Linked DNA regions of Homo sapiens: region 1 is linked to region 2. Evidence: promoter capture Hi-C in human tissues and cell types (Jung and others, 2019). All regions are on one chromosome and are shown on one strand. Each heading gives the region's core, a stretch centred on a gene start or on the middle of the fragment in contact. The rest is flanking DNA. Distances are from core to core; before and after follow the strand shown. Region 1 overlaps GABRB1 (gamma-aminobutyric acid type A receptor subunit beta1). Region 2 holds the start of COMMD8 (COMM domain containing 8).

The links. Contacts are between HindIII fragments. The study calls those that stand out against the background at their distance.
Region 1: a contact is called between a fragment that was not itself captured here and the fragment with the promoter of COMMD8 in region 2, in 1 of the 25 tissues and cell types used here (thymus).

The regions. Positions count from the first base shown.
Region 1 is chr4:47,129,715-47,134,018 of GRCh38, forward strand. All of the region lies in intron 3 of GABRB1 (gamma-aminobutyric acid type A receptor subunit beta1), which reads left to right. Among named protein-coding and RNA genes, the nearest start is that of GABRB1, 100 kb to the left of the region's middle. The HindIII fragment of the contact is 4,621 bases long and covers 1-4,153 here.
Region 2 is chr4:47,461,654-47,465,685 of GRCh38, forward strand. It overlaps COMMD8 (COMM domain containing 8), which reads right to left and starts at 2,049. Exons shown (of 5, transcript NM_017845.5): 1 at 1,933-2,049. The coding sequence starts at 1,998. It overlaps LOC107986277 (a long non-coding RNA gene), which reads left to right and starts at 2,230. Exons shown (of 3, transcript XR_001741683.3): 1 at 2,230-2,298. RefSeq lists a silencer at 1,780-2,039 and an enhancer at 3,688-3,737. The HindIII fragment of the contact is 7,884 bases long and covers 334-4,032 here.

The DNA of each region.
Region 1 (4,304 bases), core at 593-3,092, 330 kb before region 2:
CCAAGAACAAAGTAGATTAGACATTGGTTGGGCCGAGTGGAAAGAAGACTAGGAAGAGCGTTTCTCATGAGAGGATGCATCAAGTGTTCAAAGAACCCAGGGAAGAAAAAAGAGAGAATCACCCTTTCAGGAATGGAAAGTATGTCAGTAGAGAAGAAAAGCAAAACAGAACAAAAAGGTGGATAAGCACATGTGTGACTATGTAGATGAATAAATAGATATAATCTGCCTTTACTTTTCAAGTGTAAAACATTGTGTTTTATTTTTAAAACATTCAATTTTCGCAAAGTATATGTTGAAAAGTCTGCTAACAAATTTCCCAGGGAATCACATGCCCTCTCCTCCATTGCGTGGATGATTATTTCTGGCAATAATGTACTAACTGTCTCCATAGCATTTGCTCCCCCACATTTTCTCTCTGATACCAAGTGTTTTATTTCCAAAATGTAAGCTTGATCATGTCACTCTCCTGCTTAAATCTTTCACTGTCTTCCCACTTCCTTCAGGATAAAGACCACAAGATTTAAGCAGTCTTGATTGGGCTGGCCCCTGCCCACCTCCACAGCCCCATACCACTGCACATTCCCCCATAATGTCTGGGCTCCAGATACTGTGTGTGTGTGTGTGTGTGTGTGTGTGTGTGTGTGTGTGTGTGTGTGTGTGTGCTTTCTTTTCCAGTTTAAGAAAATACAATGTTCCTGGAAAATTCAGCTCCTGGAAAATACAGTTCCTTCTCCAACCCAGCCTTTGCACAAGTTGTCCTTTCAGTCTGGAGCCCACTTCCCTCTTTTGCTGTATTTATTCTGGCTCTTCTCAAATATCCCTTATTTTTGAGAACCTCCTGACCATTTGCCTCCCCCCAGATTAGGAATGGTCAAATGCTCTTCTTATACACTTTTACAGAGGAATAGTACCTCTCTTTCATGACCCTTATTACATTTGTAATTTTATATTTAATTGTGTAATTATTAGATTAGTCATGTCTGTTCCTGCAGTAGGTCGCAGGGATCATGAGAGCAGGGATCTCATAACCTCCAAGCACCAAAAGGATAGGGACTGTATGATGTTTTATTTATTATTATATTTCCAGCTCTCAGTACAGTGCTTCACATATAGTAATAGCTCAATAAACATTTGTCCTTCAAGGGATTAAGTGCTATATCAAGAAAGCTGGTTACAAAGAAAGTTATTAATGTCCATTAGGTGAGCTTAAAAAGCACAAGTCTACTGAAGTTCAACCAGTCATCAAACTGACAAGTGGCATAAAACTAAAGCTGAAGTTTTGTTTATGGGTTTGCAAAACCATCTCTAAATATAACACACTGCCTTGATTTAAAGCCTCTGTGTGCTTACATTCACAAAAAGATTATATTGTTCCTACCCAGCCCTGGAAGAAAACTGAAGAGGCCATTCTATGAATGCTTAAGTCCAAACTTTCTTCTTCTGGAGAATTTTTTTTTTTTTTAACAGAAGCTTGCTCTGTAGTCCAGGCTGGAGTGCAGTGGCGCAATCTCGGTTCACTGCAACCTCTGCCTCCAAATTCAAGCGATTCTCCTGCTTCAGCCTCTCGAGTATCTGGGATTACAGGCACGTGCCACCATACCTGGCTAATTTTTGTATTTTTAGTGGAGATGGGGTTTCGCCATGTTGGCAGGCTGGTCTCGAACTCCTGACCTCAGATGATCTGCCCGCCTCGGCCTCCCAAAGTGCTGGGATTACCGGTGTGAGCCACCGCACCAGGCCGAGTCTTGTTTTTCTGAGTGCAATGTAGCCATTGCTGTAGATTGTATTAGGTTGGTGCAAAAGTAATTGTTGTTTTTGCTGTTTAAAATAATGGCCAAAACTGCAATTTTTTTTTGCACCTACTTAATATCATTGTCTCTTTCTGCAATGCTAGGGAGGCAGTGGGCATATTGGCCAGACTTTGAATGCAGAAAATATTCAATGATTTCAAATTGAATGATGCAATGTTACGATATGGTAAAAGAACCAATACCTGGGGTATTAGGGCCCAGTTTATATTTCTATTCTGCTACCAATTCTGCATGAATTTGTGCAAATTACTGAACATTTAGATTAGGATGATGATCAGAAATGATTTAAGAACTTTGTTTCTTTCTAATTGACAAGTAAAATATCTGAGAACCATTACTAATTTATCCAGTAGAGCAATATAATTTTTTTTTCATAGCTCCTAGAATCAGAATTTGATATTAATGTATTTTTTCCTTTATAATTTCAATTTGAAATTTAATTTGACAATCTGTTGACTACTGCCTCAGAAAGAAAGGTAGTTTAATGAATTTTCATGTTTTTTTAAACAGTTTTATTTGCTGTGATTTATGAAATCATTTATTTATTGGATATTTAAATGCAGGGGTATTGAAGAAGAATAAAAATCTATTCCTAACACACTGCATTGGGCTCATTTCACTAGAAAGCGTCATTCAGATTGAATTTCTCTCTCTTTTTTTACAGTTTTGTTTTCATTTTCTTGTTGAAAATATCAATCACTGTTTATGTTGTATGCTAACTTTCTTATTATTTTTCTATTGATGTGAGAGATACCATAATAACAAATATTCTCATCTTAGAATTACTGTTAAAACTCTCCAATGCCCTTGGGCTTGTTTACCATCTCTGTGAAGACGTTTTTTCGTTTGTTTGTTTTGGTTTGTTTTGGTTTGGTTTGGTTTGGTTTGGTTTGGTTTGGTTTGGTTTGGTTTGGTTTGGATTGCATCACTTTAAAAAAGCTTTAAGAGATATTTTTAGAGGATAGGATTTGTTTTTCCTTTTGTTTTTAGTTCAAGATGGCACCTGAGTCCACTCATTTATGTTCTCTACTCCTGAACAGTCAGTTAAAATGAACTTTTTATAAGGTACAATTGTATTGCAATGAAAAAAAGGACCAAGTGTGGAATACTCAACTGGAAATACTCAACAAATACTGGAAACGCTCAACGAATTTCTTGAACGAAGGAAAATAGATGGGTATTTGATGAAGCTGGAAGTGAATAGCCACAATCTAGAACGTGTTCAGAGAGCCCTACTGCTAAATAGTAAAACAGTGTGCCTGCCAGACCCAGAGAGTCTCCAGTGCAATCATGAGACATATCTAGAAATCCTTCAGAACACATCCCATCTTGCCTTGCATTTCTGCTTCCTCTGCTTACAGCATACTTCCCTTTAATATCTTCATGTCTTTCCTCATTTTGTTTAAATCCCTGCTCAAATGCTACTCTACCAAAGAGGTATCCCTGAAACACTTTAGCTAAACAAAACTGTCTCTTTTCTTTTTTTGAAACCCATCACTCTGTATCTATTCTACTATGTCTTAATTTTCTTCAGGATATACAGCATATTATGTTTTTATGTTTTAATTTGTTCAATATCTCTTGCAAAAGAAAGTAACCTTTACAAAAGCATTAAATGTATCTGTTTTGTTAAAATGTATATTCTCTAGCACCTTGAGCACAGCCTGGAACATTCAAACTACATAAATTTGTAGATTGACTCAGTGAATGGATGATTGAAATGTGATAGAAACTTCTGTATGTGACCTTCACTGCATCTGCATAATTCCCTATTACAATATTTAAAATATCTAGTCAGATATTCACTCCCAATTTGTCAGTGTGGGGAAACAGAGCACTCTAAATAATTAATAAAGGGTCAAAGCAAACTGTAGCAATGAATGTAGATATTGATGCCTTGGGCATGTGAAGTTTCTTCAATATAGTGGCTTCATTCTCATTAATTCCCCTATGTGTGCAAAGTTCCAGTCAGCTTATTTATTATTTAATTCAGTATCTAATCCAGGAGGACACATGGCAGCAGTGATCTTGTCTCTTTAACATAGAGCAGTTCATCAGTCTTTCTTTGTCTTTCATGACCTTAACATTTTTAAGAGACAGGCAAGCTATTTTATAGACCATCTTCCCATCTGAGTTAGTTTGACATTTCCTCATGATTAGATTCAGGTTACGTGTTTTTAGCAGGACTATCACAGAAATAATGCTGTGTTCTCACTGCATCCCATTTGAAGGTACATGATGTCAGATGTCCCATTACTGATGATGTGCTCTTTGATCATTTGGGTAATGTGGAGGCTTCCAGGTTTCTCTGTTATAAATTATAATTTTTCTTTCTGCGATTACTAAAGAATCCTTGACACTATTTAAATATCCTATTCCTCATCAAATTTTCATTCACTAGCTTTAGTTTGGAAATCTGGTATTTTACATGTTAAGAAGTAGAAAGAAAGTTTGGGAAAATACTAATCTTTCATTTTTATCTCAGTGTTT
Region 2 (4,032 bases), core at 799-3,298:
AATGACAAAGGTCATGGAAATGACTTTATTTAATGGCAAAGAAACTATAATAGCTACCGTTATGGATCCCTAACTAGGTACCACACTCTGGACTGATCCTCACTACAACTCTGAAGTAACCATTGTTATTATTTCTATTTTACAAATGAGGAAACTGAGAATAAATAAGGCCCTACCATAACAGAGCTTTAGTCCATTCGAAAAAGGCAAACATACAAATACATGTAATTTAGAATGATGGGGCCATAATAAAAATATATACAAGGTACGAAGGAGCACAGAGAGGAAGCAAGGAAAAGTCCATCTTAAAAGGATGAGTAGTTGGCCAAGCAAAACAGGAGAGAAGAAGTGCATTTCTAGACACAAGCAAGTTATTTTGGGGGGTGCCTAGGGGGTGACAGGAGACAAGGCTGGAGAGGTGGGTGGAGCCAAATCAAAAAGGGCCTTGTGTACAAAGTAAAAGAGCCTAGACTTCAATCTGTGCTCAACCGGGAAGCAACCTATTCACACATTTGCATTATTTTTCCATATATTTGCTAACAGGTTGGAAGATGTAAGAGAGAGGGTGAGCCCAGATGCCTCAATTTTCAGTTAAGGAGTTAAAGATTAAGGGGCTTAAATTGTTGAGGACACTCAAAATGGAGGCAGTAAAGAGGTAGAAGAGATGTGAAAAGGGGGGGCCATGGATGAAACCTAGAACGTCAGGTTGAGAGGGGCTGGGTGAAAGTGGTGGTGCCACAAACCGAAAATGAGGCTACGGGAGGAGTAGGTCCAGGGGGAAAGAAGAGCTGAGGCAAGGGCATACTGAATTTGAGGTACCTGTGGCAGAAGCCTGACACTCAGGGAAGAGATTTTGGTTTGGGGTTTTTGGGGTTTTGTTTTGTTTTTTACCTGGCATTCTTGAACCATAGAGGAAGAAATTTTTGGCTGGACCTAAAGATTTAGAAGTCATCGACATATATGGTAATAAAGGTTATGGGCCTTATCTAAATGGGTAGAGTGAAGACAAGGAGAGCCAAAAGCCAATAAAACACTCAGAATCAACAGATCTGAGCATAAGTTCCAGCTCTGCCACTAACTGGATGGGCAATCCTGGGCAAGTTAGCCAAAATTTCTGCTGACATTTCAGGTTCCTCACTTGCAAAAACAAAGAAAAGAATTAGGTGTTTTTTTTTCTTGACCCTGGCAGGAGGTAAGTTCATTCCTTTCTGTCTCCTCCACACTTTCTCCAGTATAAATGGAATAGAGGAAACAGGAAGCCAAAATTGAGACTTATAAAAAAGATGCTCCACCAGGGCACAGGCTGTGTCTCACTCACCATTTACCTCATCCCATCGGGGCGCTCAATCTATGGTAGACTTCAATGAAAAACTGGCTGAACAAATGAATGTGGTTGCTTTTTCCAGATTCTTACAAGCCAGGTTCTTTTACAGACTGGAAGTCAATGGGTACATCACCTCTTGGGACGATCCTAACTAAAGTAACTCGCCCAGTTATTTCTCTTCCTACCAACCACCCTCAAGGGGGGAGGCAGGGTCCGCTTCGGTCTTTGTCACATTGTATTCCAGCACCTAGCTCTGTACCTGCTGTCCGGTAGGTAGGGAGCCTTTGGGAGGTTATGTGTTGAATGAATTAAGAAAACGTATACTAAGAGGCAGCAAACACCGACTTAAGCTTTCAAAGCCCAGTCTGGTGTGGGCGCTTCTGCGCGCAAAGCCCCTGGAGCTGCACCTCTAGGCTGGGGGTGGCGCCCCAAGCTGTCCTCCTAGGCTCCCCAGGGAAGGCGGGGACCAACCACCCGAAATCACGCCCCTTCCTCCTCCCTTCCCTAGGGAGCTTGCGAAGGCGTCCGGGTCGCACCCGGCCTGATCCGCACGCCGGGCTGTCGCGAATCCCAGGCCCCGCGCCGCTTCCCCCGGTACCCGCCCTCACCTGCGGGCCCAGCTCGGCCGGCAGCTTCTGCAGCCGCCACAAGGGCGTCCCCTCTTCCGGCTCCATCCCTGCGCGAAGCTGGGGCTTGGGTCACGTGTCAAGGCTGGCCGCTTGTCTAAAGCTACGACTCGCCCACGTGACTCTCGCCGGCGGGGAGGGGCGTGGACCCAAGAAGTCCCTGTGCGCTTGCGCAGAGACCGAACTACCGCTTTCCCCGTAACCAGGGAGACTGCAGTTTGCAGTGATGTGGCTAAGATACCCTTGTGCTATTAAAGGCACATTTACGTATCTTTCAACGCAGTTTGTACCTTTGTTTAGGGTTCTATTGAACTTTCTCTGTGCTCTTTAGAAAACCGTCGAATAAAGGTAACCATCTTTTTGGGTGCCTGGGCATGGTCATTGTCCCAGAGTTTTAACAGAAGTCTCTACTAAAGTATCCTGATTTGCAAGGTAAATTAAGGTTTTGCCATGAGCAACGTTCTGTATATAGATCATCCTAGGGAGAAGGTACTATTTTCAGCCCTATTTGCAGAAAGCAAACATGATTAGAGAAGTCACTAAGGTTGTCAGATTTAGCAAATGAAAATACCAAGCGTCCAGTTAAATGTGAAATTTCAGATAAACAATAATATTTTGTTGTAAGTATCCCCTAAATATTGTATGGGATATATTTATACTGAAAATTATTTGTCCATCTGAAATTCAAATTTAACTGGTGTCCTGTATTTTATCTGGCAACGCTAAAAATCACTGACCTAAGTAAGAGGCCCAGTCTGAAGTTAAACAAAATCAATCAGACTCAAGAGCCATGCTATTAATGTTGGACTAAGCTCAAAGTCCAAATATCCTTTCTGTTATTTCTTATTACAGCTGTTACTTTAATCAGGTGCTGAAGAATTCAGTGGTGGTAAAATGAGCATGTCCTGCAAAAGCGGATAATAATAACTAGTAGACCAGAAACAGGAATTACAATCTAATTTATAAATTTAATAATAAAAGTGGTGCAAAATGGTGAAGCAGAAGAGAAAGTATTCAATCTATGGGCTACGCAGAGAAAAACTACTCATTAGCAGCATTCTAGGTTTACCTCCTACGTCCTTTCTCTGTGTGCCTCAACTCTAAAAGGTGAAGTCAATTTCTTTCTCCCGTGAGTTTTCATGATATTTTAGCTGTCCCTCACTTATTTACCACTTTCTAGTTCTTAATGCAGATAGATGCACAACACTCATTGCCCTATCTTAAATGTAATTGTCTTAAGATACTTTGTGAATAGGAGCTCCCCTAGTAATAGTTAAAATGAGAAGTCTGGAAAACTACTTCACCTGAGTCTTTCTGTAAATCTAATGATGGGTAAGGTCTATTTTGAGAAAAAAACTTAAATTTTATGTATTATAATAATTGGGAGAAAAGTACTTTCAAGCATCTACTATATGTCAAACCCTTCATATATTTTTATCTTACTAATTCCTGCTACAGCCTTGTACAGTGGGTATTACAGATGAGGAAATGAACTTGAAGTAATATATTTTGTAAGGTCACATAGATAGTAGTTACAAAATCACTGGTCTGAGGCCAGAAACGGTGATCTCAGTTTGCATGCTTGACTACCCCTGCTGAGGAACTGAAATGATATGGCTTACCTAAGGCCACGTAACATGACTAAATAAGGTAAAATGACACACCTAACAGGGCCCAAGGTTTAGTCAGAGGACAGAGAATTAGGTCCTAACTCATCTTTCAAGCAACACTGAGTACTAAGAAGAATTTGATCTTTACTCTTGAATTTGGATGGGACAAAATTTAGCCTGCAACAAATATGGTTTCCAAAATAGTTAACAACTTGCAAGAGAGACAGCGCTTAATATTTGCCCTTTGATTAGTAAGAGGATGTTCTTATGTGTGTAATCCAAGAGGTTTTCAAAACATATGTCTGTCTCTTGTAGTTCCATCTCTATGAGGTATATTCTGGTCTCCATCTCCCAAATCTTATTTGTACTATAGCAATCTTTAAATGCATGAACTCTGGAGCTAAACTTCATAAGTTCAAACCCTGGCTCTGCAAATGACTATGTACTCTGGGCAAGCTATTTTCACTTCTCT